4 separate regions of the Homo sapiens genome follow, and all the other regions are linked to region 1. Evidence: promoter capture Hi-C in 16 types of primary human blood cells and fetal thymus (Javierre and others, 2016). All regions are on one chromosome and are shown on one strand. The core of a region is centred on a gene start or on the middle of the fragment in contact, and the rest is flanking DNA. Distances in the headings are between cores, read along the strand shown.

Region 1 (7,068 bases), core at 4,569-7,068:
TTTTTTAATTTTTTGCAGAGACAGGATCTCTCTGCTACTTAAGCTGTTCTCACGTTCCTGTTCTCAAGTGATCCTCCTACCTTGGCCACCCAGAGTCTGGGGTTACAGGTGAGCCACAAGGCCGGCCTTTTTTTTTTTTTTTAAATAAAAACATCTTTTTTGTAAGGTTCTTAGTAAAAATAATTATAATAATAATATATATAAAGGGTGAAGGCTGTGCCACCACAACTTTCAATACATTCCCTTCCTGCCACTCACTTCCATTTGATGAAATCAATAGGAAAATTGCTGTACAACAAAGAGTAGCATCTGACAGGCACTGTGCCAACCTTTACCTCACACTTTCAAAGACCGGAAGAGTTCAAGGCTTTAGTTTACACATGGTTTGGCTACTCTCAGACGCTAGGCAATTGTTGGGTTTCCTGATTACCTGCAAAAACATTTTTGGATAACAGCTCATTGAGAAAAAGGGATATCTACAAAGACAGAATATGTCATTTTTATGGATCTAGCTATTATGTTATTTGTATAGGTTGAATAATTTATATGTACTATATCAACTATTAAATTTTGGACAAATTTTTAGGCTTTGCCAGCAAAATTAGACCAAAATTTCAATTTTGAACAGAGTATAAATCTCTCTTCTCTAAATTAAAAACCCTTTCCCCTGCTTTTAGAAAACATAATTGCATAATTCAAACTCCTTCAAAACTGTGACCTAGTTCCCCCTCTTGATGTTATAAAGGGCTCATGTAACTATGGTAACTAACCAGGGAAAATTGAATGTTTTTCTGGTCAGCAATATGCAAAGTATACCATATGTGCTATTTTTTCTCTTTGGGATAGCTAAGGGGATATTACGTTTGCCTTTTTTCTTGTTTATGAAAATATGAGATCTTATTATACCGAATTTCCTCTTCACTACAATCCCAGTCATTCACACGGTCCCTTCGTTAAAACGTTTTAGGATCATATTTTGCTTTTAGTAGTCATCCTAAATGCTGAATAGTACTATAATCTAAAGCAGTAGGATTGACTGTATACACCAGTTAAATCTGTGCAGTCTAACACATAAACTCCAAGTACAGGGTGATATTGCTCAGATTTCTAATATTCCTTCTACAGAATCTGATATTTTCTTAACTTTGTCCTTTTTTTTTTTTTTTTTTTTTTTTAAATGAGACAGAGTTTTGCTCTTGCTGCCCAGGCTGGAGAGTGCAATGGCACCATCTTGGCTCACTGCAATCTCTGCCTTCCGGGTTCAAGCGATTCTCCTGTCTCAGCCTCTGAGTATCTGGGATTACAGGCACATGCCACCACGCCCGGCTAATTTTTGTATTTTTAGTAGAGATGGGGTTTCATCATATTGGTCAGGCTGGTCTCGAACTCCTGGCCTCAGGTGATCTGCCCACCTCGTGGCAAAGTGCTGGGATTACAGGCATGAGCCACCACACCTGGCCTAACTTTGTACTTCAATCCTAGCCAAAGTGTTTTCTTAAAGCAAAAGAACTGCTAAAATGGAATTACATCTTGGAGTATATTTAGATATTGAGAAGAGTTATCTCCAGTTTGTAGTGACTTTTATATATCTTTTTATTTCTATTTAAATTTTTTCTACAATAATGTGTATTACTTATGTAATAAAGTAATAAAAAATGCTTTAATGCTTTAAAACTGAGTTCAGTGGAGACGCACACCATTAGGTTTTGTTTTTTTTTTTTCTTTGAGACGGAGTCTCGCTTTGTCGCCCAGGCTGGAGTGCAGTGGCATGATCTCCGCTCACTGCAACCTCCGCCTCCCGGGTTCATGCCATTCTCCTGCCTCAGCCTCCCCAGTAGCTGGGACTACAGGTGCCCGCCACTACGCCCAGCTGATTTTTTGCATTTTTAGTAGAGACGGGGTTTCACCGTGTTAGCCAGGATGGTCTTGATCTCCTGACCTCGTGATCCGCCCGCCTCGGCCTCCCAAAGTGCTGGGATTACAGGACTATTAGGTTTTTCTTTAGTTGCTTTTTGTACTAATGAATTGATTTAAAGTTTTAGGGTTTTTCACTATAATTTAAGATGCTTCACTGGACCTTCTAGAACAAATTACACTCTAACACAGCCTCCTAGATTACTAAGGATTTATTTATTTGCATCAGGTACAATTACATTTCTTACAACACGCTATCAATTGGTGACTTTTCATATGAGGATTTCTTCTTGAATTTCTCCATATTTAAAGCAGTGATTTTAAACTACTTAAATATCTTCCTCAGAAAAACATTGCTCTCTGCTTCACTGAATTAAACAGGGAATTAACTGCCTCTTACTGGTTTGGAAAAGACCTCAGTAACCAAATAAAATGCATGGGATTTGCTGGATCCTGTTAAACCAAATGTGAAAGATTTACTGAGACAATAGGAAAATTTGAATTGTGTAGTTATTAAATGATAGTAAGAAAATTTGGGGAGGCAGAATACATGGTATTACGGATATGCTTAAAAAACTGTTATCTTGGCCAGGCATGGTGGCTCACGTCTGTAATCCCAGCACTTTGGCAGGCCAAGGCGGGCGGATCTCTGGAGGTCAGGAGTTCCACACCAGCTTTAACCAACATGGTGAAACCCCCTCTCTACTAAAAATACAAAAATTAGCTGGGCATGGTGACACATACCTGTAATCTCAGCTACTTGGGAGGCTGAAGCAGGAGAATCGCTTGAACCTGGGAGGCGGAGGTTGCAAAGAGCCAAGATCGCCCCATTGCACTCCAGCCTGGGCGACAAAAGCAAGTCTCAGTCTCAAAAACAAACAAACAAAAAACAACTATTATATTTTACCTATTCATATTATTCATATTTAAAGTATTTACAGATAAAATGATAAAAATCCAGCAAGAGTGAGGGAATGTGAAGGGCTATAGATTAAATAATCTTAGCCATATGTTGCTAAATGTTGAAGCTGGGTAGACGGTATATAAGGATTTATTGTAGTATTACTTTTGCCTTTGAAAATTTCCATAAAAGTTTAAAAATATTAAAAAGTAGAAAAAAGAAAAGGATTTCATTTATTTGATCTGACTCAAACAGAAGCTGAATTTTCTCAGCAGGCATCTTTAGGAATCTTTCACCATTACTTGCCAGTTTGTTTTCAACCAGTTTGAAGTTGTTGCTCTCCCCAAGAGACAGGTACGGAGGCGTACACATTTCCTGCCAGGGACCTCTTAAAGTCAGACTTAGAAATTCAAGGTAATCCCAGACTAATTTGGGGAGATCAGTTACTTATCTTTTTTTTAGGGTTGCTTTATGGTAGATAATACACTGTAGAGCAAATAAAATGCCTTTTTGCTTTATTCACAGGATTAAATACCATAAATTAATTTCTAGTTGCTGAGAACGGGAGATTTTAAATTTTGCATTTAGAAGACAAGAAATTCAATCTGAAGAGGCCCCATATTTCCAGTTAAGTGACCACTCAGAAGGGAAGGACAGCGCTCAATAACCAAGGTCAAGAGTTGGGTTTAGGGTTTGTGGCGATTTTTTTTGGGGGTGGCAAGAATAAGCCGTAGATTAATCTCTTAAAATAAATATAGCAAGAAAAGCATGCCTAAAATAATTCATACATATACATATATTATCATATTACAGTGTTTTACAGTTTTAGATCAGTACCAGCTAAAATATTCTTTGGATTGTTTTTGCTTTTTTACCAGCCTGTTCAACAGAATTATAAAAGGTGACAATAATGCTATAAATGTCTCCTATCCCATGCTCATCCCTCCTCTCATCTTGCTCTGTTTCTGGAGTACTCTAGGTATTCTGCATCTTTGCCTTTTTCCCCTTCTAGTTTCTAAACACATTTCTTATCTACTTGCAGATCACTTATCAGACTGAATAAAATCCATAGGTACATTCGGTGTCTGACCTGTAACAAGGCACCCCACATTATTTTGCGCCTTTGATAAAGACCAGCTTATTCAAACTTGTGAGAAAACAAAAATAGCAGGGTTCAAGTAAAAACCAGTAAAATTCAGTTCTTCACAGTGGCGGTTTTTTGACAAGACCCGGCCGAAAGATTTCACGAACAGTAAAATCCCAGAATGTTCTCAGAAATACTATCCACTGTACTGTCTGGGTTGCTTAATACTGGCCCAAACCTCAGTGTCCTAGGATAATAACCCAAGACAATTTCCCAGTCCTTTGAAATAGTTGACGTCCCAAGATGTCAAATTGCCTGGAGTGCTTTATTTTGGTTTGAAATTTAAAATTTCCTCTAGATAAAGATCTAGATTTCTCTTTGCAAGTCAAAGGCTAGTTACTATTAACAGCTGTTTCAAAAGTGCTCTAAATAGGTCACCATTCAGGTGTACCAACGCTGCAAACTGGATCTAAGAAGATCCAAATTTGTCACCACTCACTCACATTTTAACTCAAAGGTAGTACTCACAATTGGCCTTGTTTACATAGGCATTCCATTAAAATTATCCATGCATTCATTCTATTTGCACCCATTTCTTTCAAAAATGTCCATCTGTAATTAAAATCAGCTCCTCTGCCTGACATCTCATTTACACTACACCGAAATTAAACCCCACTAGGAGATCACGTAGATTATGGGGCCGAGGGCCCGCCCGCTGACTAGGTTTTCACTCGCGTCTCCTCCATGCCCCAGGTCCCCTCCGATTGCAGTCCTGGGGCAGGACTGAGCAAAAAGTCCCGTAAAGCTGGCGTGTGCCCCACTCCGCCAGGAAGCCTCACCGACGTCCTGTGCTTAAATGTTCTGACACCCCCCAAAAGCAGTTGTTTTTAAAGGCTGTCTGTGGGACCAATGCGTTGTCAAACAGATGCCGTCCCGCATCCCCTCCCCCTAAATGACACAGAAGATTCCAGCGTAGGGGAAGGGCCACGAAACCCGCAGGGCACACGACGCCGGGGGCCGGAGGGAGCACCGCCTACCTCCCTGATCAAGCCCCGCGGTGCCGGGCGAGCCCGAGGGCCCGGCAGGAGGCGGGCGGCAGCCCCAGGCGAGCTCGGAGGCGGCGGGAACGCAGCCGCCGCGCATGCCGGGAGCCGCACGCCGCCCGCCGGGGCGCGCAGTCCCGCAGGCCTCGCTCCAGGTCGTCCGAAAAGGAACCGCCTGCTGCTCCTTTGCAGGCTCGCGAGGAGCCGCACTCGGACCGCCTGATGGGGAAAAAGCCGGTGTGGCCGGGCGGAGCGAGCCGAGCGGAGCTGGAGCTGCCCCTCCCAGCGGGGAGGACGGCACGAAGGACCGAGCCGCCTCCCCTCCCGGGTCCCATTCAGACGCGAGGCGCAGAGACTGGCTCCCCGGGCTTCCCCTTTAAGGGGGGCGGGGCGCGGCCTGCCGTTTGGCCGCCCCCCACACCCTCCCCCGCTAGCCCAGAGCCGGCAGACCAATCGCCCGGGCGGCGGAGCGAAGGCGGGAGAATGCGAACCCTCCGGTAGGCGGTAGGGGCGGGCCCCGGCCTTATTCGCAGGGAGCGCTGCGCAGGCGCAGAGGCGGCCGCGGGCGGAGGGGCGGGGGCAGGCTAGCGGGAGGCTCTCCGTGAGGCACGGAGGGTGACTGGGGACAGGCGGGCGGCGACGGGCTTGTCATGGGGATCCGGGCTGCGAGACGGCACTCGTAGCATCTGGGGACTCCGAGGGGGACAGGAAGTGTCAGCGCCCGGGACCCCGGCGCCGGCCCCGCCGAGGGGATCCCCACTGCTCCGGTCCTGGAGCGGGAGGGGAGAAAGGAGGGAGCCCCGGTTTCGCCCCGCCCCTGGGCTGGTGCTGCGGGGGCGGGGAGTGAGGGCTGCTCTGGGGGGAGTGGAGATCGGGGAGCGCGGCCGTGCCCTCTCGAGCGGCTGCGGGGTCCCCGCGGCGCCGGGCTGCTGAGCTGAGGGCCCGCGGCGGCCGCGGCCGGTGCATGTGCGGCTGCTGGATGCGGAGGCGGCGGCGACGGCGCGGATCGGCAGGATGTTAGGGCAGCAGCAGCAGCAACTGTACTCGTCGGCCGCGCTCCTGACCGGGGAGCGGAGCCGGCTGCTCACCTGCTACGTGCAGGACTACCTTGAGTGCGTGGAGTCGCTGCCCCACGACATGCAGAGGAACGTGTCTGTGCTGCGAGAGCTGGACAACAAATATCAAGGTAGGAGCCGCGGGGCTGCCGGCCTCGGGAGCCGGTGGCGGGGAGCCTGTCCGGGGGAGTGCCACCTTCCCTTTCTCCCGTGACAGTCTCCCCGAGCGCACCGAGGGTCTGCCGAGCGGGACTGGGAGGACTGGAGACCGGGTTGGCGGCCCTCCGTGGCCCCGCGGTGGGCGAGTACTTCTCTGGGGTCCCCAGAGTGGGGGTGGGGGCCGCTTGTCAGCCCCCGCTGCAGACCCAGCGGCTGCAGCTGCCGCTGAGGGGAATCAGCCATTTTAAGCAGCAAGCATTTGTTCAGGCGCTGGCCCGCCCCGTGCCGCAGACCCTGCGGCCCCGGCCCGGGACTGCAGCCGGGCAAGGGTCGGAGGGAGTGAGCGGCCGGGCTCCCGCTGGTCTGCGGGGCGCGCTTCCCCACCTCACTCGCCCCCACCCCGGAGTGCGGGTGCTTTGGAACGTGCGGGGGGAGGGGGCGAGAGGCCGCGGAGGCGGACTGAGGGGGCCTTCCTCCGCGCTCCTGCCCCGGCCCGGAGGAGAGCAGTCCGTTCCGCTCTCTCGCCCCGGGAAAGTTCGCGGGCGCCCCGCGTTGTAGCCCTAGCCCAGTTCTTTCGGCAAAATGGTTAAGAGGGGAGGGGTCCCCCGCGGGAGAGGAAGAGAGGGGCGTGTGTGGCGGGGAGGGCCCCCGCGCCGGGGGCGGGGCCTGCGGGCTTGACGAGGGGCGTGGGAGGGGCGCGGCGCGCGTTCCCGCGGGCCTGGAAAATGGCTGGTCGCGAGAGGGGCGGTGGCGAGCTGGCTGCTGGGGAGGGAGTCGGGGCTGTGCGGGGGCGTTGGTTCGGCCCCAGCGGAGTCCGAATCGGGGTTTGCAGCATGTTTTGCGGTGATGTTTCCAACCTCTTTCCCAGTCAATGGATCAGGACGGCGATCAGCAGCTCGGACCGTCGCGGAT
Region 2 (7,068 bases), core at 1,464-3,963, 2.0 Mb after region 1:
CCCTGGACACCCTCAAATTCAAAAGTCTCTCACAAACCCATTCCAATAAGGGTTAATTAGGTTAACCACTAGTTCTGAAATCAGAGACACCTTGGGAACATTCTATAACTCTTTGTAACCTGGCAGTAGTTATGCAAATCAGGTCATTATTTTCTCAGTACACGGGGAATGGATCACTTGGTGACAATGAAAGCATCAGTAGGAGAGTAGAGAGAAGGGCGCCAGCCATACCTCCTAGTTTTGCCTATAGTTGCAGGCAGGAAATTCCTGGGTGGCCCCTGACTCAAGATAACTGGTGTTTATTAAGAACCTGTCCTGTGTCAACCCCAGACCTGTAAACACTGTGTTCTGGCAAGAAAGACTGTAACTCTTAAACATGTACATGTGCTATTTTGCATGTAACTATTTTCTATAAATGTTGGCATCTTTCTCCAGAACCCTAAGCCTCATTCATGTCAAAAAACATGTGATCTTGCCAAATTAAGGTACTTCTATTTCTTCTGACCTTACATGCTCTCTTTGAGGTAAATACGGAGCTACCTCAATGTCTCAACTCTCTGTGAGGACTCTTTCTCCTTCGTTCAGGGGGCCCCTTTGCCCCTCCTGGTTGCCCAGGGAAACCTGCATATCTCAAGGGTGGAGGCAGGAGGGCGGAGAGGGGACTGGCCAGTGCCTGTCCTGCTGGCCTCCACTGGGGTGTTGCTCATCCTGGTAGTGCCTGGGCACCCGGGTGTCTTCTGTCTACTGAGGTGTGGCTGCTCTAGTCTCTTCTTTCCGGGCCCTGACAAGGCTTTTTGTGAAGATCTTGCATGGTGGAGGTGCAGAAATCCTGTCCCAACCTCAGTCCTCTTGTGGTTCAGCACTTTGGCATCAGGATTGCCCATATCCTACAGAGGGGCAACTGGGGGTCCGGGCATGGCACATCAGTCTAGACCCTTCTCCTGCCCCGTGCTCTGCTCCTTCCCCGGCATGTCCCCTCACAGCAGGCTCCTCTGAGAGGCGTGTAGTCAGTCGCCTGGGACTCCACCTTCAATGTCCTCAGATTCCCCTAGCTGGGTACCCCCATCTTATTCATAATTTATGTGGTGCTTGAAAGCTTTAGCTATGTGGCTATTTCAAACATCCTCCCCATATAATATCCTGTAGTCCGTAAATATTTACTATAAAAAGTAGTTTTCTTTAGAAAAGGTATACACCCCTCCCTGGATATCCACAGGGGATTGGTTCCAGAGCCTCTGCGGATAGCAAAATCTGCAGATGCCCAAGTCCCTAATACAAAATGGGGTAGTATTTGCATAGCTTCTATGTGTATCCTGCTGTATACTTTAAATCATCTCTCGATTACTTGTAATACCTTATACAATGTAAATGCTATGTAAATGGCTGTTATACTGTTCAAAATTTGCATTTAAAAATTGTGGTACTGTTATTTTTAAAAATTTTCCCCCCTGAATATTTTCCATCTGTGGTTGGTTGAATCCAAGGATGCGGAACTCCCAGATACCGAGGGCTGACTGCATATCGTTTTAGTGTGTGTCCAAAAAACTCAACAATTCTTACTTAGCATTCAGAGAAGCAACGGAGCGTAGCGTGGTGGTGAAGACAGGCAGTCCGGAGCCGCCCTGCTGAATGCCCGCTCCATTCCTCGCTGCCTGTGTGACCTTAGGGAGTTAACCTCTCTGTGCCCGTTTCCTTATCTGCAAAATGGGGATCGTGGTAGCACCCACCTCGTAAAAGTGTTGTGAGAATTAAACAGTTGATCCATTACGTGCTTAGAACAGCACTGGCACAAAGCGCGAGTGCCGTGGTGGCTGCTGTCCGTGTCATCACGGCCGTGGGAAGCACGCCAGGTGAGCAGGTGGCACAGGCCAGATGCTGCCGCCTGTGTATAGTTAAAGGAGCCTTTTACGGTCTGGCGATTTTACCTGTGTCACTGCAGCCACTTTCCTTCACCCCCTCCGAAGAATTTAGGATCTTGGACGCTGAAAGGAGAACGGAGTCAACTTCATCCTCTTCCCGGTGCTGCTTTTCTGTAACAGAACCGTCCGGGGCTGTTCTGTCGCGGGTCGTGGCGTGGCGGGGCTGAAGGTGGGGGCGGGGCAGAGGGATGGGGCGGGGCAGGGCTAACGGCTGGGGCGGGGCGGAGGGAATTAGGAGGGGGCGGGGCTGAAGGCTGGGGCGGGGGGGCGGGGAGGGCGGGGAGGGCGGGGCGGAGGGAATTAGGAGGGGGCGGGTTTGAAGGCTGGGGCGGGGCGCAGGGATGGGATGGGGCGGAGAGACTGGGCGGGACCTGTGGGGGCAGAGGAATGGGGCGGGGTCAAGGCTGAAGGCTGGGGCGGGGCGGAGGGATGGGGCGGAGGGACGGCATCAGGCCGGGCCTGGGGCGGGGCGCGGCGCTTTCCGCAAGCGGCCACCCGAGGGCGCGCTGGGCGGGCGGCGGCGGCAGACCACGTAGCCAGCCTGTAAGCCACAGCGGACGCAGGGGGCCGCAGCGGGTGCTCAGCCCTAGGGCCGAGCGGGAGATGTGCGGCGAGTGCAGAAGGGCGGACCCGGGATGTCCCGGGTTTTCGAGCGGGGAGCCGCCTGCTGAATGCCCTTCTGCTGCCCTCCGTTCCCGCGGCTCCCCTAGGAGCCCCGCCCCGTCCAACTCTTACCCGGGCTCATCGCCGCGGCTCATCTCTCTCGCAACCGCCGCCGCACGCACCCGCTCCGCCGCCCCGCGCAGGGCATCCTGTCGCCAGGTAACCGGGTGGCCGGGGCGCCGGCCCCACCCCCACCCTCGGCGGCGCGCGCTCGGCTGGGGTCCCTGGTGGGGTCCCGGTGGGTCCCTCCTCACTCCGGACGCTTCCCCGAGAGCTTCCCTGGGAACCTGGCCTGGGACAGCCCACCTGGGCGCCTCCCCGCACACGCGCGCGGCTGTCCGGGACGGGCTTGCTCACACTCGGACTCGCTGCGGTACCCGCCGGACCAAAGCGGTGCGGAGAAAGGGACCGCCCGGGGACGGACACACGCCTGAGAGCTTTCCCTTTGCCTTTCCACATCTCCACTTCATCGCTGTTGTTTTTTTTTTTTAATTCTTAGTCCTCTCATTTCAGCGCATCCCTCAGAGGAGTTTCAGCATTTGGGGATTTGAACGGCCCATGACCAATATTGTGAAAGGACTTTTGTTTGCTGCAATGAAAAGAAGACTCCTATTTTTCAATAATGAATTAACCTAAACATGTATTAAAATATGCTCATGAAAGCTGTGGGAAGCGACGGTGGGCTTCCTTTGTCTAAGCATGTTAATTTTTACGCACCTGGTGTATCACGTGCAGGATTGATGTTGCGTTCACGGGAAACCTGACCTCCTTTAACCAAGGACTGGGTGCGTGCCCCCAGCTAATCCTCCTGCCCATCAGAAAATGGTGCTCTTTAAAGTTTTAAACGAGTATATATTATTTATTTTGTAGTAAACCATCACACATAGAAAATTAAAATTCAAAATCACAATCACCAGGATATCATAATTTGCTATATAATAACATATAATATATAATAAGTAATACATGATGGCTTGCTTTCATTGAAATGAAACTTCTTATGATAGTTTCAGTGCTTACTTCCTCTAATTTGTTTCTTATAGAAATGGGCTCTAGTGCACGCGCCTGTAATCTCAGCTACTCAGGAGGCTGAGGCAGGAGAATCGCTTGAACCCAGGAGGCGGAGGTTGCAGTGAGCCGAGATGGCGCCACTGTGCTCCAGCCTGGGCAACAGAGCCAGACTCCGTCTCAAAAAAACAAAAAAAAACAAACAAAAAAAAAAAAAAGAAAAGAAATGGGCTCTAGGTCCGGCATGATGGCTCACACCTGTAATCCCAGCACTTTGGGAGGCCGAGGCGGGTGGATCACCTGAGGTCAGGAGTCCGAGACCAGCCTGACCAACATGGTGAAACCTTGTCTCTACTAAAAATACCAAAATTAGCCAGGTATGGTGGAGTACATTCGTAATCCCAGCTACTCGGGAGGCTGAGGCAGGAGAATCACTTGAACCCAGGAGGCAGAGGCTGCAGTGAGTCGACATAGTGCAACTGCACTCCAGCCTGGGCCACAGAGCGACACTCTGTCTCAAAAAAAAAAAAAAAAAAAAGAAAGAAAGAAAGAAAAAAATGGGCTCTAGAAGATTTGACTTTCTTGTGGCATTGTAGACAATTTTAATAAATTATAATTTTGAGAATTTATGGTCTGCATTGCTGATTGATATTGATGATTCAGGAGATAGAAATTATTTAGGCAGATAGGGCAAAAGAGTCTTCAGCAGAACTTCTAACAAAAAACAGCTCAAGAAATCATTTTTTTTTCTAACAAAGAGCAGCCTGAAAGCCTGCAAACCTTGCAAAGATAGATCAGGAAGCTGGAAGCGTGCACACCAGGGCGCAGGGGGTTGGGGGGCAGCGTGCGGGTGGATGCCAGCAGCTGCGCTGATAGAAAAGGGCTACCTGGGGGCCAGGCATGTCCACCATGGAATCTCCATCTCCCCTTTTTTGTTAGCACGTGTACAGTAAGAAAGAGATGGGCGATATGGAAAAGCTCAGTCAGAGAACCCACCTGCGTAGTAAAAGATTGGGGTGGGGGCTGCCAGAGATTCATGCCCTATGCAGATGGCACACCTGGTCCTAACTGGTTTTTCACGCCCTATGTAGATCAGACTGCCTCCCCATTAGCTCATCTATAAAATTCTATAAAAAATATTTCACAGCGAATTGGCAACCCGGGGACCCCTTTCTGTAGCGGAGAGCTTATTCCCTTTCTTGTCGCCTATTACATTTCGGCTCTTAACCTCACTCTTTGTGTGTCTGCATCCTTGATCTCCCTGTGAGACAGCAAACCTTGGTGTCAGCCCACACAATGAGGCTGCTTCATTGATAAAGTTAATTTTTTTCCTGAGAGCTACACAAGTTTTCAGCAATATGTTTGTGAAATTACTACTGTAAATAAATTGCATTCCTTCAAAGGGTGAATGACAAAAAGCCACTACATTTTAGCAAGTCTGTTTTTATACTACTGAAGTTTCCACAATTAATTACTATATTGTATTTTATGTAATGCTAATTATTAATATCTAATCATTTGATAATTTATGTAATAATGTGTAATAACTCTAATTTGTCTATGTAATATTTGTGGACTATGATGACAAATTAATATCGGTTATTACATAGAAATTACTTGTGGATTTTTGTGGGAGCACTCAGTCATACCATTTAGTGTAGAATATAAAAAGCAGGTGATAGATGCTACAACATCAAACTCAGATTTAGCCAGTGCACTAATCTCAATAGAGAGTTACTTCCATTTTAAGCTACTTCCTAATCCATTCATCAGTCAGAAAAGCAGCTCTTTAGTTAGAAGGACACTTTATTTTAGATGTCCTATAAGGCCTTTTGATTATCACACTCATTTCTCTTTTGTAAAGCACATCACATATATATTCTCAGTTAAAACAAAAATTTTGTCAGAAAATTATTGCAATTAATATGTAAAAAGGCTGTCTTTGGAGCCAACAGTTATAATATTTTAAAAACTGTTTTCAATAATAAAGATGCCTATGATTTGAATATCACCCTCTCAGATGAACCCCCTCGTGAAGGGCCTCACATGAACATTGCGTGCGCCAACCCTGGTATTCGAGGTGGGAGAATCTGGAAGTGGTAATTAGAGCATTGACATGTCTCTAAAAAAATGGGGGTGGGAGGTGGTCACAGCCCTTTAGGGACATTCACTGCAGTGTGAAATGTATGTTGAGGGAGAAATCTTATTTGATCACCCATGGCCACTTAAAACCATTTTCACCTGCGCTTGAAACTACCTGCATTTTGAACTCCGTGGCTGACCGAATGATGGGCCTCTCTGAAAAGGAGTTTCCTTATCTGTACAACTGTGAGCCAGTAGTGAGGATGAGTGAAATCCCAGGTGAAGGGCCTACTCCAGGAGAAAGCAGAGTGGTCACATACGGGGCTGACAGTGAATGGCAGGTCTAGAGCCCCGTCTAGGGTGGGATTCCATAAACACTTTTGAAATTTTTTTTTCCTGTGGTTCTTCTTTGAAAAAACTTGACACTTCAGTGGAAAAAGATTCAATTATTGTAGCTCAAATATTAGAAAAAATGTATATTTTAAAGAGATAGTAGAATGTGTTGTCTAGTTTATATTGTGTGTGAACTTTGATGAACTTGCCAAGCTTCTAAAAATAAAAAAATTGTTTGGGCATCTCAGTGAGTGCGTGTTTAGATGGCCTATAAAATGAAAATTTCTCGGCCGGGCACGGTAGCTCACGCCTGTGATCCCAGCACTTTGGGAGGCTGAGGCAGGTGGATCACCTGAGGTGCGGAGTTTGAGACCAGCCTGTCCAACATGGAGAAACCCCATCTCTACTACAAATACAAAAAATTAGCTGGGCATGCTGGTGGGTGCCTCTAATCCCAGCTACTCACTCGGGAGGCTGAGGCAGGAGAATTGCTTGAATCCGGGAGGTGGAGGTTGCTGTGAGCCAAGATCGTGCCACTGCACTTGAGCCTGGGCGACAGAGCAAAACTCCGTCTCAAAAAAAAAAAAAAAAAAAAAAAAGGCTGGGCGCAGTGGCTCACACCTATAATCCCAGCACTATGGTTTGGGAGGCCGAGGCAGGCGGATCAAGAGGTCAGGAGATCAAGACCATCCTGGCTGGCTAACACGGTGAAACCCCGTCTCTACTAAAAATACAAAAAATGAGCCAGGCGTGGTGGCGGACGCCTGTAGTCCCAGCTACTTGGGCTTGGGAGGCTGAGGCAGGAGAATGGCATGAACCCGGGAGGCAGAGCTTGCAGTGAGCCGAAATCGCGCCACTGCACTCCAGCCTGGGTGACAGAGTGAGACTCCATCTCAAAAAAAAAAAAAAAAAAAGTAAAGTTCTCACTGTGTGTTACTTATTAAATTACTTTTTTTGAGTAATTTAAAAATAATGAAAAGTACAGAGTGATGTAACTAACGCCTAAAAATAATGAAAAGTACAGAGTGATGTAACTAACCCCCTGCTTCAATCTTCCAGAATT
Region 3 (7,068 bases), core at 2,964-5,463, 1.7 Mb after region 1:
TTTTAGGCTGAATGTTGTTTATTTTTTTCCCAATTCTGTTGGCATATACTGAGCACTCATATTTAGCATAACAGAAACCCTATCAGACAGGGCTAGTGTTTTATTTTTTTATTGTGGCAAAATACACGGAACACAAAATTTACCACGTTAACCATTTTTAAGTATACAGTTCAGTGGTACCGAATACATTCATATTGTGTAACCATCACCACCACCAGTTTCCAAAACTCCTTCCATTGTGTAAAACAAATTCTGTATCCATTAAACTCTGACTCCCCATTGCTCCCTTCCCTTCGCCTCTGGAAGCTTTGTCTCTATAATTTCGACCACTCCAAGCATCTCATATAATCATACAGCACTTATTTGTCTTTTTGAGATTGCCTTATTTCACTTAGCATAATGTCCTCACGGTTCACCCATGTAGCATTATGTCAGAATTTCCTTCATTTTTAAGCCTAAGTAATACTTCTGTATTTTTTTTAATATGCTCTGATAGTATCTTCTGGTAAGTTAAAACTACCCAACCACCCACTTGCATTCTTTGTACTTTTTTCCTGTAATCTTTAACTGAAGTTTTGTTACTGTTTTTTCTCATTCTTTTCTATTTTGGGAGATTGACTAAGTTAAAAACTTTTTTCTCTAAGATTTTCTCCAAAAGTTTGTAGCATTATGAATAGTCTAATCACCTATTCTAGTTCCATTCTCCTAAACCTCAGGACCCCTTAACACCCCCCCTAAAGACTGAGGACCCCAAAGAATGTGTATGTGGGTTACATCTACCAATAGTTACCATGCTAGAAATTGTTTTAAAGATATTAATTCCTCTAAAAATAATAAACCAATTATATGTGAACATAACATTTTTATTTTAAAAAGTCAGCGAGTGGCAGAGTTTGTTTTGCAAGTCGTTTAATGCCTGGCTTAAAACCTTGTCTCTGCAGACTTTTGTCTGCAGACAAAATACTCTAAAAATACAAAAATTAGCCAGGCATGGTGGCACACACCTGTAATCCCAGCTACTGGGGAGGCTGAGGCACGAGAATTGCTTGAACCAGGAAGGCGGAGGTTGCACTACTGCACTCCAGCATGGGCAACAGAGCGAGACTCCGTCTCAAAAAAAATAAAAATAAAAAAAAATTAATTAAATAAAAAGCAAATCAAGGCATAATCATACTTTTTTTTTTTTTTTTTTTTTTGAGACGGAGTTTTGCTCTTGTTGCCCAGGCTGGAATGCAATGGCGCGATCTTGGCTCACTGCAATCTCCGCTTCCCAGGTTCAAGCCATTCTCCTGCCTCAGCCTCCCGAGTAGCTGGGATTACAGGCATGTGCCACCACGCACGGCTAATTTTGTATTTTTAGTAGAGACAGGGTTTCTCCATGTTGGTCAGGCTGGTCTCGAACACCCGACCTCAGGTGATCCGCCCGCCTCGGCCTCCCAAAGTGCTGGGATTATAGGCATGAGCCACCACACCCAGCCGGCATAGTCTTAGTGAAAACAGTTTTGTCCTCAAAGATCCTAAAATCATCAAGCTTGCTCTTTTAAGAGTTTGAAGTATTACATTCTTCAGCTATGAGTCTGGTGCCTCTCTGTTGGTTTTTGCTTTTCTTAAATGTTTGGCAATACTTGGTAGTGTGTTGAGGGCATTGAGATTTCCTGCAGTTTGCCAGGAAGAAAGGATAAAATGTGCTGCCAGGCAGGACGTGCTGGTAGCTAATCTCAGTATGGGCATCTCCTTTCTTATGGAGCATAACAGGGTCTGTATCTTCCCTTGAACAAGGCACTTCACTTCAATCCCTCACACGTTGGTATCACTTTAGCAAAAAATTTAACCAGTTTCTTTGCTCATCAATGCTTCTTCAATCCCATTTCTTGTATTTATTTTTCTTCTCAAAATACATCCTGTAGTGATTATTTCATAGTTTATATAGTAGATTTTGAGGCCATGTATTTCTAAAATATTTTAAATTTTTGCTGTTTCAGATTCTTTTTAAAGTGACCTAATTTTACCTATACAAAATATGAAACATACCTTTAAATCTAGTGTGGTCAACGTCTTCAATGCTCTCCAAATCGGTGAGATTCATACCATAACTTGATGTCTAAACTTCTGTTTACTACTCCATTTTTTTAATGCCCTCTCTGCCTATTCAGGGATTTACAGGTCAAGATGAAGGATCTAATTCCAACCATTTTTTGACATTTACATAGCAAAGGCAGCTTTGCATGGAGGTGGAAAATTCCCCAAGTCAGCCACCCTTGAGCTAAAAGAGGTTGAATATTCAGAAATTCGACTAATCTTTCAAGATCCACTTCAAAGTCCTGTATCTAATACTGCCACTATGCAATGGTCTTCCCTTCTTCCACTATTTCTCACAGAACCCGAAGAACTCTGAAGTTAGAATGGACCCTAGCAACCTATATCAACAATCTCCTCCTACAAATAGAGTGCCTGAAGCTCAGAACAGTTGCTGTCTTGTTTGTGATCATGTCGGTAACACCCAGAAGCCTAAGTTTTATTCCACTTTCAAAACTGTCTTTACCTTGGTTCAACACTGTCTCGTCATTCCATGCCCTATACTGGTAGATTCAATTTTACATTCTTTTATCAATCTTTGTTTCATAGGCTTAATATTTTATAGTTCAAATTTCTATTTCATAAACAACAAACGGGCTGGGCGTGGTGGCTCATGCCTGTAATCCCAGCACTTTGGGAGGCTGACACGGGCGGATCATCTGAGGTCAGGAGTTCACGACCAGCCTGGCCAACATGGTGAAACCCCGTCTCTACTAAAAATACAAAAATTAGCTGGGCGTGGTGGTGCCCGCCTGTAATCCCAGCTACTCGGGAGGCTGAGGCAGGAGAGTCACTTGAACCCGGGAGGTGGAGGCTGCAGTAAGCTGAGATTGCGCCACTGCATTCTAGCCTGGGTGACAGAGCAAGACTCCGTCTCAAAAAAAAAAAAAGGTTCTTTTAAACCAATAAAATGTTGATGTGGTTGGCTATACAGGTATCCCTCATTATCTGAACTCTCACCTAATATGGCTGTTAACTTGCAAAATTTTTTACTTAGTATTCACTACCTTAAGCAGTAAACTGGTTTACCGAACCTCTGTACTGAAGTCCGTGAAAATGTTTAAACTGAAAGGATGCAGAGAGTATGCTGCATTCCTGCCTCAGCTGTGCTCTGATGGGCTCACATGTTGTCTTCACCATCATCCTCCCCATACTAAGTGGATTTATGTTCCAGGAAGTAGAAAAGGCAGTGAAGAAATTAGGTAAGCCAAAGCAGCCTAGAAAAGCTTATTTAGTGTAAGTTAGAAGTGATAAAGTGTATTGAGAGATGAATGCAGAAAAGGCACAAGCCTGGCTCTGCATTCATATCCACCTACCATGACCACAGTTGCAGTTATATGGTGGAAAATAAAGAAAACATAGGAAAATAATTTTGGATCTGAAATGCTTCACTGTGTAAATCGAGCATGAATGATAATTTTGAAAAATGATTGCAATACCTTATATAATAGACTGACAGTCCTAATTAGTGTTTAAAATGCTTTATTATTATGAAGAATCCTTGGTGGATTGTTATATTATGGACTCCAATAACAGATGTACCAACTGGCAAAATGCCATGTTTGTTCCTGCGCCTTAAAAAGCCCTGAGCGCCACCTACTGGCAAATCTCTTCTATCAGGGGTTCTTTACTATGCAGTACTATGAATAAAGCTTCCCTTCTACATTTTAGCTCAGCATCTGTGTTAAATGCTTTTTAACAGTATTTCAATTTAATTATAATTGGGGAACTGTTCAGGAGTTTGGGGTAGGATTATTTTTCTTATTTAAAAGTTAAAAATATTTAGGTTCTCTATATCTAATTAAGTTTCAGAAATGGGTTAGACAGGAAGAGTGAAGAATGCTTTATTTTCAATGGAACCAAATAGTTTACTCAGTGTCTTGATATTCAGACCATGGTCCCTAGATCTGCAGCACGGGTATCACCAGTAGGGGCTGATTAGAAATGCCGATTTAGCTCTTACCTTAGTTTTACTGAACCCAAATCTGCATTTTAACAGTATCCCTGGGTTAACCGTATGCATACTGAAGTTTGAGAAGCTCTCTTGGACAAAGTTGGCTGCCCAATTACTGTATATCTATTTTCCTCCTACTTCACAGATCCCTGACTTCCAGGGTGAGCCTGCTTGGCCCAGGATAATCCCATTTCCCCTACCAACGACTGGTTCGGGAATGGGAGCGTAACCAGTTCTGGGCAAGGAGACCTATGTGGATGTTGACTGGGCCAAATTTCTTTAAGAAGTTTCCTCCATTCCAAGAGTCAGAGAAGAGACACTGTCTCTTCCTCTGGACACTGTTGTGTCTGAAGGTGAACACTGAAAACGGCTGCAGACATCTCCTAGCAGCCTAAGAACGAAGCCAACACCAGGGCTGGAGGAACACAGTGCTAGAAAGTAGGTCCCTGATGAAGTTTTGAGCCACTCAATCAACCCTGAAGTCTAGCGTGTCTTTGGGTGACCTGTTATATGAGAAATATTGTTTCATTCGGAATTCCCTTCTTGTATTCAAAATCCTGGATAATCACTGATGACTCTGAACAAAAAGCCCAGAAATCAGACTATTTTCTATTAGATGGTTTTTAAAAACTTGACAATTCTAAGAGTTGAGTGTTTTCTTCCTGTAAGAAGCTTTTTATTGGCTGAAACAATACCTTCCTTTTGTATGCTCGTTTTTTAATCCTCTTTCCTAGGATACAGTGGGGTTTATAATTTGTGGGAACAAATAGTACTTACAAGATTTTAAAAAACGGAAGTGTCCCCTTAAAAATAAAAATTATGATTTAGTCAAACAAGCCCATATTTAAAAAATAAAGCCCACTAGACATATTGAACATTTTAATTTATCTTCTAGAACATTTCTCTTTTCAACCCATTTTTAACCTAATTTTATAAGAACAATACTTTTTAATGCCAAACAATAGGCTGCAACTTTTTAACACGTTTCCCATTTGCCCCAAGAAATGAGTGCTGGCAGTGAGCTGTACTTTTTTTTTTCTGAACAGGAAATGGGTTCAACACATACAAATCACAGTAAGAATTATGAACGAAGAGCAATGCAGCAATAGAAATTTGATGCACAAGAAAAAAGGCAAATATATCAAGATATATGTTATTACACAATATTAGTGAGCAATCTGCATTATCTCATGATATTTTATGATTTAATTTCAACCACCATCCAATTTTTGCATTACAAATATAATTTTAAAGAACAATTCTGTCACTTCAAGGAAAACAGTTGACAGTATTTATTACCAATAATAAAATTTGAGCTTTTTAGCAAAAAATAGTATTTTAGGTAAACTTGTATCTGCCACCATGAGTTTGACAGCTTCTCAAGAGCTTTCTGATGAGGCTGGTAGTGATATTAACAACTATGATTTCTATATAATGTATTCTGAAATTTGCCAACCTTTTTTTTTTTTTTTTTTTTTGAGACAGGGTCTTACTCTGTCTCCTAGGTTGGAATGGAGTGGCGTGATCTCAGTTCACTGCAACCTCCAACTCCCTGGCTCAAGAGATCCTCCTATCTCAACCTCCCCCCGCAGCTGGGACTACAGTAGCACACACCACCATGCCTAGCTAATTTTTGTATTTTTTGTAGAGACAGGGTTTCACCATGTTGCCCAGGCTGGTCTCAAACTCCTGGGCTCAAGTGATCTGCCTACGTCTGCCTCCCAAAGTGCTGGGATGACAGGCGTAGCCACTGTACCTGGCCTGCCAACATTTGTAAGCTCAGTGAAACAATATTTTCCAAATACCCAATATGTCACATTCCAAAACCAGGCATAGGTAAAATATACATTAAAAATCAATCAAGAAAGATCAATATGTTTTAACATAACAGACTTGAAATTCACGATTAAAAGTTAACTGAGATTAATTTCAGATTTCACATTGCAACTAACATCTAAGAAACTATTACTTGTGGGCCAGGCGAGGTGGTACACACCTGTAATCCCAGCACTTTGAGAGGCCGAAGCAGGTGGATCACCTGAGGTCAGGAGTTCCAGACCAGCCTGACCAACATGGTGAAACCCCGTCTCTACTAAAAATACAAAAATTAGCCAGGCGTGGTGGAGGGCGCCTGTAATCCCAGCTACTCAGGAGGCTGAGGTGGGAGAATTGCTTGAACCCGGGAGGCAGAGGTTGCAGTGAGCCAAGCTCGCGCCACTGCACTGCAGCCTGGGCAACAGAGTGAGACTCTGTCTCAAAAAACAACAACAACAGAAAAGAAAATACGACTTGTGGTATAAAAAAATCCACAAGTAACTGAAAAGGTTATTAAAATACTCCTTCATTTTTGAACATTTTGCATATGGCATATTTTCTATACATCCTTTAGCCAATGATATATAGATTATAATAGATTATAAGCAGAAGCTGATTTGAGAATCCAGCTACATTCTATTAAACCAGATGCTAGTGATTAGCAAAAATCACTAATTTTTTTGGATATACACCTTTTTCATGACATACATTACTTACATTATATGGCAACTACATAATGAGTTTATTACTACTATTAAACAAATCAATATTTTAAAAATGTGTAATTTCTAATATGGTAAATATTTACAGATATAAGCTATAACCTATATAAACAAAAGCTCTTCAGAATCCTCAATAACTTTTATGAATGTAAAAGTGTCCTAAGACCAAAATGTTTAAAAATCGTTGTGTTAGAGCACTTGAGGTTGGTGCTGGAAATCCAGAAGAGCAGGAGAGAGCTGCAGCCTGCTGTCTGTCAACCCAATAAATCATCCACCTAGCGAATCGTATGCTCTAGCTTAACTAATGAACACACAGACTGGAAAGTGGCCATAAGAATTATAAGAAAAAAGAATTACAAGAAAATTGTTACCCCAGATGGCTTGATTAAAAATTGGAGATTTTACCCAGGGGAGAATATTAATCAAATGTCTTAAAGATTATAATGCAGAAGGATGCACAGACTTATTCTATGTATTTCAGATGGCAAGTTTTAACAGGAA
Region 4 (7,068 bases), core at 3,176-5,675, 1.1 Mb after region 1:
GCACAGAGAATTTTTTTTTTTTTTTTTTTTTGTTTTGAGATGGAATTTCGCTCCTTGCTCAGGCTGGAGTGCAGTGGCGTGGTCTCGGCTCACTGCAACCTCCGCCTTTAGGTTTCAAGCGATTCTCCTGCCTCAGCCTCCTGAGTAGCTGGGATTACAGGCGCATGCCACCATGCCAGGCTAATTTTTGTATTTTTAGTAGAGACGGGGTTTCACCATGTTGGCCAGGCTGGTCTCGAACTCCTAACCTCGTGATCTGCCCGCCTTGGCCTCCCAAAGTGCTGGGATTACAGGCGTGAGCCACCGTGCCCGGCCCGCACGGAGACTTTTTAAGGCAGTGAAACTACTCAGTGTGACAATATAATGGTGGATACAAGTCCTTGTAAATTTGTCCAAAACCATAGGATAAACAGCACCAAGAGTGAACTTGATTGTGAACGATGGCGTTTGGGTGATGATGACGTGTCAGTGTAGGTTCCTTTGTAAGAATGTACTACTCTGGTGCAGGATGTTGATAATGGGGGAGACTACGCACGTGTTGGGGGGCAGGTGGGATACAGGATGTCTCTGTACGTTCTTCTCAATTTTGGTTTGAACCTAAAACTGCTCTAAAAAATGAAGTCTAATTTAAAAACTGGGAAATAAGACTTAATAACTTCGGAAGCTGAACCTGGAGCTCCTGGCAGTATCCTTTCTAGCCCCCAGTCTGCCTCAAATTGGCTCTCTGAATGCATGTGCCAAATGCAGGGTTCACAGTCTGTGCTCAGGAACCCCTAAATGCTGATCAGCTTCCACAGACAACCAAGGACCTAAAGATCTCTTTTGAACACTTCTGCAAACAGTCTAGTAACTCTTACACTGAAATACTGACTTTTAATAAACTTGTGTCTTTTGCCAGCAATAAAATTGTGGGATAAAATTATTCTCTCCTTGTGACTGGTAATGGAAACTTTAAATAGTGACCAGCTTTTCAGAGTACTGTAATATACAAATACTATACAAATACTATAGTGGACTTCATTAACTTCATTATTAGTATCTGAACAACATACATTGCCTCAGTTATCAGTTTATTTTGATATACTTCTAAAAATTTATATGATGGTAGATGAAATCCTTACAGCATCAGACATGCGCACATTTGCTCTCTACTTGTCATCATCCGCTTTTTCCACATGAAAGCACCAAATCCACACTCCTGGGAGCAGAGCTTTGGTTCCCGCAAAACTCACTGAAGTGCTGCTTAGCATGACATCACCTCCATTAGCTAGTGCCCAGCAGGGTACAAATTATTCTGAGGATGGTGATCTCATCTTAGAAGGATAAAAAAATCACATCCTAAGGGAAATAGTCACTGCCTTAAATGAAAACAGAAATTTTGCCTGTAATCCCAGCACTTTGGGAGGCCGAGGCGGGCGGATCACAAGTTCGGGAGATCAAGACCATCCTGGCTAACACGGTGAAACCCCGTCTCTACTAAAAATATAAAAAATTAGCCAGGCGTGGTGGTGGGTGCCTGTAGTCCCAGCTACTCAGGAGGCTGAGGCAGGAGAATGGCGTGAACCCGGGAGGTGGAGCTTGCCGTGAGCCGAGATCGCGCCACTGCACTCCAGCCTGGGCGACAGAGTGAGACTCCGTCTCAAAAAAAAAAAAAAAAAAAAAAGAAAACAGAAATTTTGGTTTTTAGAACATTCTTATTTGACAAAATATAAATAGGAAAAATAATTGTGATTTAAAAGATTTATCCTGGCATAGCAATGGACTTAACATGAATTGTTTCTTACTGGGCTGATGTGTGTGTAATTCTGTTCAATTCAGGATGCTGCTGCTAAGAAAGGAAATTTCTGAACACATATGTTTATGGCAAAGTTCTCAGTAGACCAACTGATATTACTTAGAAACCTGGAACTCAGGTCTCAGAATCACTTGTCTAGTTCCTGGATCCCTTAACACTTGCCACCAACGCTGTAACAGTCAGGTCTTCAAACACAAAAAAATATTGTCAGTATAAATTTACTTCACTCTAAAATAGATACTTAGACATTTCAAGCTGTGTTTTCCTACACAAGTAAAAAACTAGAATGTTCTCCCTATTTACATGGTGGTTAGCCAACTACTCATTACAATACTGAAGTAAAGCAGACTACAACATCTATAGCATTAAGGCAGAGAAATAAAAATTAATTTCTAAAGTGAAATTTCTATATTAAGCTATAAAGTATTAACAATTTGAAACAACCTGTTATTAAAGAGTGAATGTGTGAAAGTGTGCCTGTGGTGGGGAATTCAAAAGGAGATGTTAAATTAGGATTGCCAGTCTCTAAAACTGAAAGAAAAAATACATTATTTTACAATAGGATTTAAAATATTTGATAAAGATTTCTCAGGGACAAATACTATAGTGGACTTCATTAACTTCATTATTAGTATCTGAACAACATATATTTTCTCAGTTATCAGTTTATTTTGATATACTTTAAAAATTTATATGATGGTAAAGGAAATCCTTACAGCATCAGACATGCGCACATTTGCTCTCTACTTGTCATCATCCGCTTTTTCCACATGAAAGCACCAAATCCACACTCCTGGGAGCAGAGCTTTGGTTCCCGCAAAACTCACTGAAGTGCTGCTTAGCATGACATCACCTCCATTAGCTAGTGCCCAGCGGGGTACAAATTATTCTGAGGATGGTGATCTCATCTTAGAAAGATAAAAAATCATATCCTAAAGGAAACAGTCACTGCCTTAAATGAAAACATTTATGTGCCAGTCTCTAAAACTGGCAATCCTAATTTAAATTTTAAATCTCTAAAATTCTTAATCAGCTCATTAGGCTGTTGCTGGTTCCTGTCCTACAGGGAAACTCTGAGGTAAGAAATAAAATCTGGTCTCTGCCCTAAGGGTTTTTAAATCTCAAAGTGAGACCTAAAAAACAACTGTTAGTTTCTGAATCATGTCCATGAATGTAAATGCTTTTAAGAAACATTTACTAGTAAAGATTTACCAAAACAGTAGCCAAAGGATGTGGCGTGAGAGCTGTGTGCAAAGCGCTGCGTGATGACTGTCCCTCTTAATGCTGGCTCATACAGGCTAGGTACTGAACTCAAAGTACAAGCGTATTTTCGTGAGTCCTCCCAATGACACTCTGAGGCATAAGGATCCCCACTGCAGAGTTCAGGTGACTGAGGCTAAGAGAAGTTAATGAACTTTAAAGTCGCACAGCCAAGATTCAAACTAGGATCTTCCCAACTCAAGAGGGCAGACTCCCACTATTCTGTAGACAGCTTAGTACTATATAGGAATGATAACACTTAACTTCAGGGAAGGAAACAAAAATCCATAATCTCAGAAGCTTTAAATAAGACAAAGAAAATAAATAACATGATAGAAAGTTACTGCAGAGATAACAAAATAACATAATGCACTGAATTCTAATGAATGAAAAAATGGCAAAAATGACTATGGCATTTCTGATGCGACTAGGTAGTTTACTTTTGTGTTTTCTTTCCTTTTTTAAAAAAATTTAACAAACTTCGCATGTGGCATTCAATTTACTTCTAAAGTGAAATAGGCCAGACACAGTGGCTCGCGCCTGTAATCCCAGCACTTTGGGAGGCCAAGGTGGGAGGAATGGTTGAGATCATGTGTTCAAGACCAGTCTGGGCAACACAGAGAGACCCCATCTCTATAACAAAGTAAAAACAAGTAGCCTGGCATGGTGGCACACACCTGTAGTCCCAGCTACTCAGGAGGCTGAGGCAAGAGGATTACTTGAGCATAGGAATTGGAGGCTGCAGTGAGCTATGATCGCACCACTGCACTTGAGCTTGGGTGACACAGCAAGGCTGTTTCTAAAAATAATAATAATAAAAGTAAAATAACTGGTTTCATGTTCAGCGTTAGGTATATGTCATTAAAACATATTCCCTGTATCTCTGTGTTCCTCCAAAGGAAAAGTGAAGCCTGTCCAGCAGGACTTCTGGGGAGATTACACTTCTGTCAAACAACTTGAAAAATATCAGGATTATATTTATTACCTGTCAGAGAGGACAAAGTCTCAAAAGCAGTCACGTTTCCAGATTTAGCAAATGAAACAGAAAGAACATCTGTTTCACAATAGTTTGGACAAGAAAAGACTTCAGTTGTGATGTACCAGAGGTTTTATCAAAATCTTTTCCCATCTGGTCTCTGAATTCATTTGAGTACGTATAAGAATTATCAAACTGGCGATTGTAACTGGGCCTGGTGAAGTCAATCTTTTAATATTTGTTATGTAATTAAGGTAAAAATATGAGAACAGGAATGTAAAATCAAATACAGAATACATTGAAATAAGTTCCATTGTACTATACAAACAAACCATCCTTTCCTTTCCTCTGGCAAGGGCCACGTGACCAGGAAGACAGTACAGAGCACTCTCCACTATTCAAAGCCTCTGAGTTTATGACACAAGTTAGAAAGAAGGGCACTTAGTATGTGCAAACGATCTGTCTTCCCTGTGCCAGGTGAAGTCCTAAGATGGTGTTTTTGGAAGGACAAAAGGAGAAAATGGGAAAGCCTTCACAGATCTAAATGATTTGTATGATATAAGTGTAAAATGGAGGATCTCGGATGCCTTTTTATAAAAATTACAGATGACTTTAAAGCCTCAGCACTCCCACCAAGGATGACTACTTTGCAGAATCAGATTCAAGTTTAAAACCGCTTGAAGAAATCCTGCTGTCAGGAAGACTGAAACTGCCAAAACTCAGATTCAGTAGCATTTATTCATTTGATATTTGCACCATAACAATTTACTGAACACCAACTGTGTGCAGAGTACTATACTAGACCCTGAGTGTATCAAGCAGTGGAAGAGACAAACCCTATCTCTATTCAGGGCTTATACCGATGCTCACTGGTATTCAAAAGTGGCTCAACAAGGCAGATGCCAGACCGTGTCCAATACATATCAGGTAGCTTGATTTCATTATTGTAATGCAAAGAAGCTCTACAGGCAACATGTGAAGGTAAGAACAAAACATGCAGAGAAAGAATATTATATAAATCTAAGAATTCTCCCATCTTTGTTTAGGCCCAAACACCAGTGCTTCTTATCTTTGGGGCAGAGCTTAAAGATCTAATAGTAGGCACCAGAAGCAATGTAATATATCATTCATCAAAATAAAGACTGCTTTGTAGGGGGATGAAGCAGTAGGAGATTGTGTTAAACGAGGTTTGAAAACAAAACAGTAAAGAAGCATTATAATTGCCTATATCAGATGCCAGTCTCTTCAAATGGCAAGAGGCAAGGCCTTTATTCAGGATAGCAAAAGCAAATCTGATTTAACTAGGTACAATGTCTAATGTCTCTTACTTTGAACAGGTTTTATTGCCATACTCCAATAAACTGTTCATCCATTCACTAAAATAATTTTCACTTTCAAAAACCTTCTTTTGCAAAAAGGCAAAGCAAAACCAAAGTCCAAGCATCGGGCTGTGATAGAGATGATTTAAGCTTTATATTTCATTTTTAGAGATTATGTAACCACAGCACGCACATTCACAGTGGCTGAGCCCATTTTGATACAGTCTGGTCTAACCACCTTGCCTGGCCCTCTTTCAGCTATCTTGCAGGTTTACATCGTTTCAGTGACTCCGTATGTCACCTCTACCATTTCTTTTCTAATTATTATTTGCTGAATAATCCTAAACCAGGTCTACTTTTTCTAGATAGGGCATAAAAGTAAAAATACAATGGATGGGCATTCACTGTGTTATGCCAGGCCCCGCATTTGGGGCAAGACACTAAGGATACCAAGATAAACCAAGTCCGTCCCTCCTGGAGTTTGCTTGCAAATCTAGCAGGGAAGATAGTAAACAAGCAACTGCAAAGGATATGACACATCTCTCTTAGGGAATGCTGGCTGCAGAAAGAACACAGCATAGGAAGATTTAACCTTAAACTGTTTAATGAAAACAGAAATTTAAGTAGCAGCTCTTCTAATCAAATGTGATGGCGGGAGAAAGGGAGTGCAGAGGTGTTGCAGGCAGACACTAGGTATGAAGGTCAGCATTGCCGTGCAGAAATCGAACCGGTGCTAAAGATAAGGAGGGGTGGGGGCACTCAGGACCCAACACACGCAGGGGTTTGTTAGCCATATTAAGTGCTGGGTTTAACCTAAGGGCAAAGGACGAGCTTTCTAGACTTTCATTTCATAAAGATCCCTCTGCCTGTGCTGTAAAAAGTGGACTGCAAAGGAGCAGGCGGGTCTGGAAGTGGAGAGACCAGGGAAGAGGCTGCTGTGGTCAGACGGCTGAAATCAGAGATAGAGAGACGCGGACAGATCTGGCAGACATTTACAAGGTCGACAAGGCTTGGCGACTAAGCAGGAAAAGAAGTGGGTGGGCGAGAGGGGGCTGCGAACGATGTTTTCCGGTTTCCTGCTTGGGTGCCACTTACTGAGAATGGGGGAAGAGGCAGGTGCAGGGCACACCCACCGAAAACCAGAGCGCCGAGTGTGAGCAGGGCTCGCTAACTCCTCACGGCCTGGGATTTCAAGGCGACGCCAACCAGCTGTGGCCACGGATACACAGCCACAGGTATGAGCTGCGAGCACTCACGAAACTCTGCAGGGCCGAAAAGGAATTGGAGTTTAAACCCTGCAACTATCTCTCTGGAAGAGCTAAACCACATTGTCAACCCGGGATAATCCAGGCCCCAGGCATGGAAGGCAGCAGAGACGGAAGCCTCGTCCAAAATTGGAAGGATCAGCCCCCAGGGCGAGTATCTCACAGTCAGCACCCGGCCGCCCCAGCCCTCGCAGCACCGCTTCCCGGGGCCACTCCTCCGCCGGCGGTAGCGCCGTCCGTTTCCCAGCTTGCCGCTGCCTTCCGCCGCCTGACCCGGCCTTCCGGCACTCGGCCGGCCGCCAGGTCTCCCGCCCTCGGAGCTCGGTGCCCCGTGCCCGACCTCCCGGCCCCGGGCTCGGTTCCCCTGGCCAGGCCTCCCGCTGCCTGGCCTCCCCGGCCCGGCCTCGCGCTGCCCGGCCTCCCCGGTCCCAGCCCAGCCTCCCGCCCCCGGGC

What was found. The method cuts DNA at HindIII sites, captures the fragments that hold promoters and counts their contacts. A CHiCAGO score of 5 or more calls a contact.
Region 2: a contact is called between the fragment with the promoter of CCDC110 here and the fragment with the promoter of ING2 in region 1, in 4 of 17 cell types (total CD4 T cells, non-activated CD4 T cells, naive CD4 T cells and 1 more). The highest score is 10.0, in total CD4 T cells.
Region 3: a fragment that was not itself captured here is called in contact with the fragment with the promoter of ING2 in region 1 in 2 of 17 cell types (total B cells and total CD8 T cells); the score reaches 5.6 in total B cells.
Region 4: a fragment that was not itself captured here is called in contact with the fragment with the promoter of ING2 in region 1 in 1 of 17 cell types (naive CD8 T cells); the score reaches 5.7 in naive CD8 T cells.

What each region holds. Positions count from the first base shown.
Region 1 is chr4:183,499,240-183,506,307 of GRCh38, forward strand. It overlaps ING2 (inhibitor of growth family member 2), which reads left to right and starts at 5,819. Exons shown (of 2, transcript NM_001564.4): 1 at 5,819-6,128. The coding sequence starts at 5,957. ING2-DT (ING2 divergent transcript) reads right to left here and starts at 5,276. Exons shown (of 3, transcript NR_033995.2): 1 at 4,937-5,276. RefSeq lists silencers at 4,901-5,940, 6,161-6,880. The HindIII fragment of the contact is 10,965 bases long and covers 1-7,068 here.
Region 2 is chr4:185,469,020-185,476,087 of GRCh38, forward strand. CCDC110 (coiled-coil domain containing 110) reads right to left here and starts at 2,714. Exons shown (of 7, transcript NM_152775.4): 1 at 2,655-2,714; 2 at 1,926-2,030. The coding sequence starts at 2,664. It overlaps LOC105377590 (a long non-coding RNA gene), which reads left to right and starts at 2,412. Exons shown (of 2, transcript NR_133944.1): 1 at 2,412-2,741; 2 at 3,096-3,244. RefSeq lists a silencer at 2,299-2,928. The HindIII fragment of the contact is 5,122 bases long and covers 1,095-6,216 here.
Region 3 is chr4:185,180,147-185,187,214 of GRCh38, forward strand. All of the region lies in intron 2 of CFAP97 (cilia and flagella associated protein 97), which reads right to left. Among named protein-coding and RNA genes, the nearest start is that of CFAP97, 20 kb to the right of the region's middle. The HindIII fragment of the contact is 974 bases long and covers 3,727-4,700 here.
Region 4 is chr4:184,642,020-184,649,087 of GRCh38, forward strand. CASP3 (caspase 3) reads right to left here. Exons shown (of 8, transcript NM_004346.4): 2 at 6,446-6,612. Among named protein-coding and RNA genes, the nearest start is that of CASP3, 3.9 kb to the right of the region's middle. RefSeq lists enhancers at 888-1,466, 1,467-2,044, 2,346-2,977 and a silencer at 6,936-7,068. The HindIII fragment of the contact is 2,145 bases long and covers 3,354-5,498 here.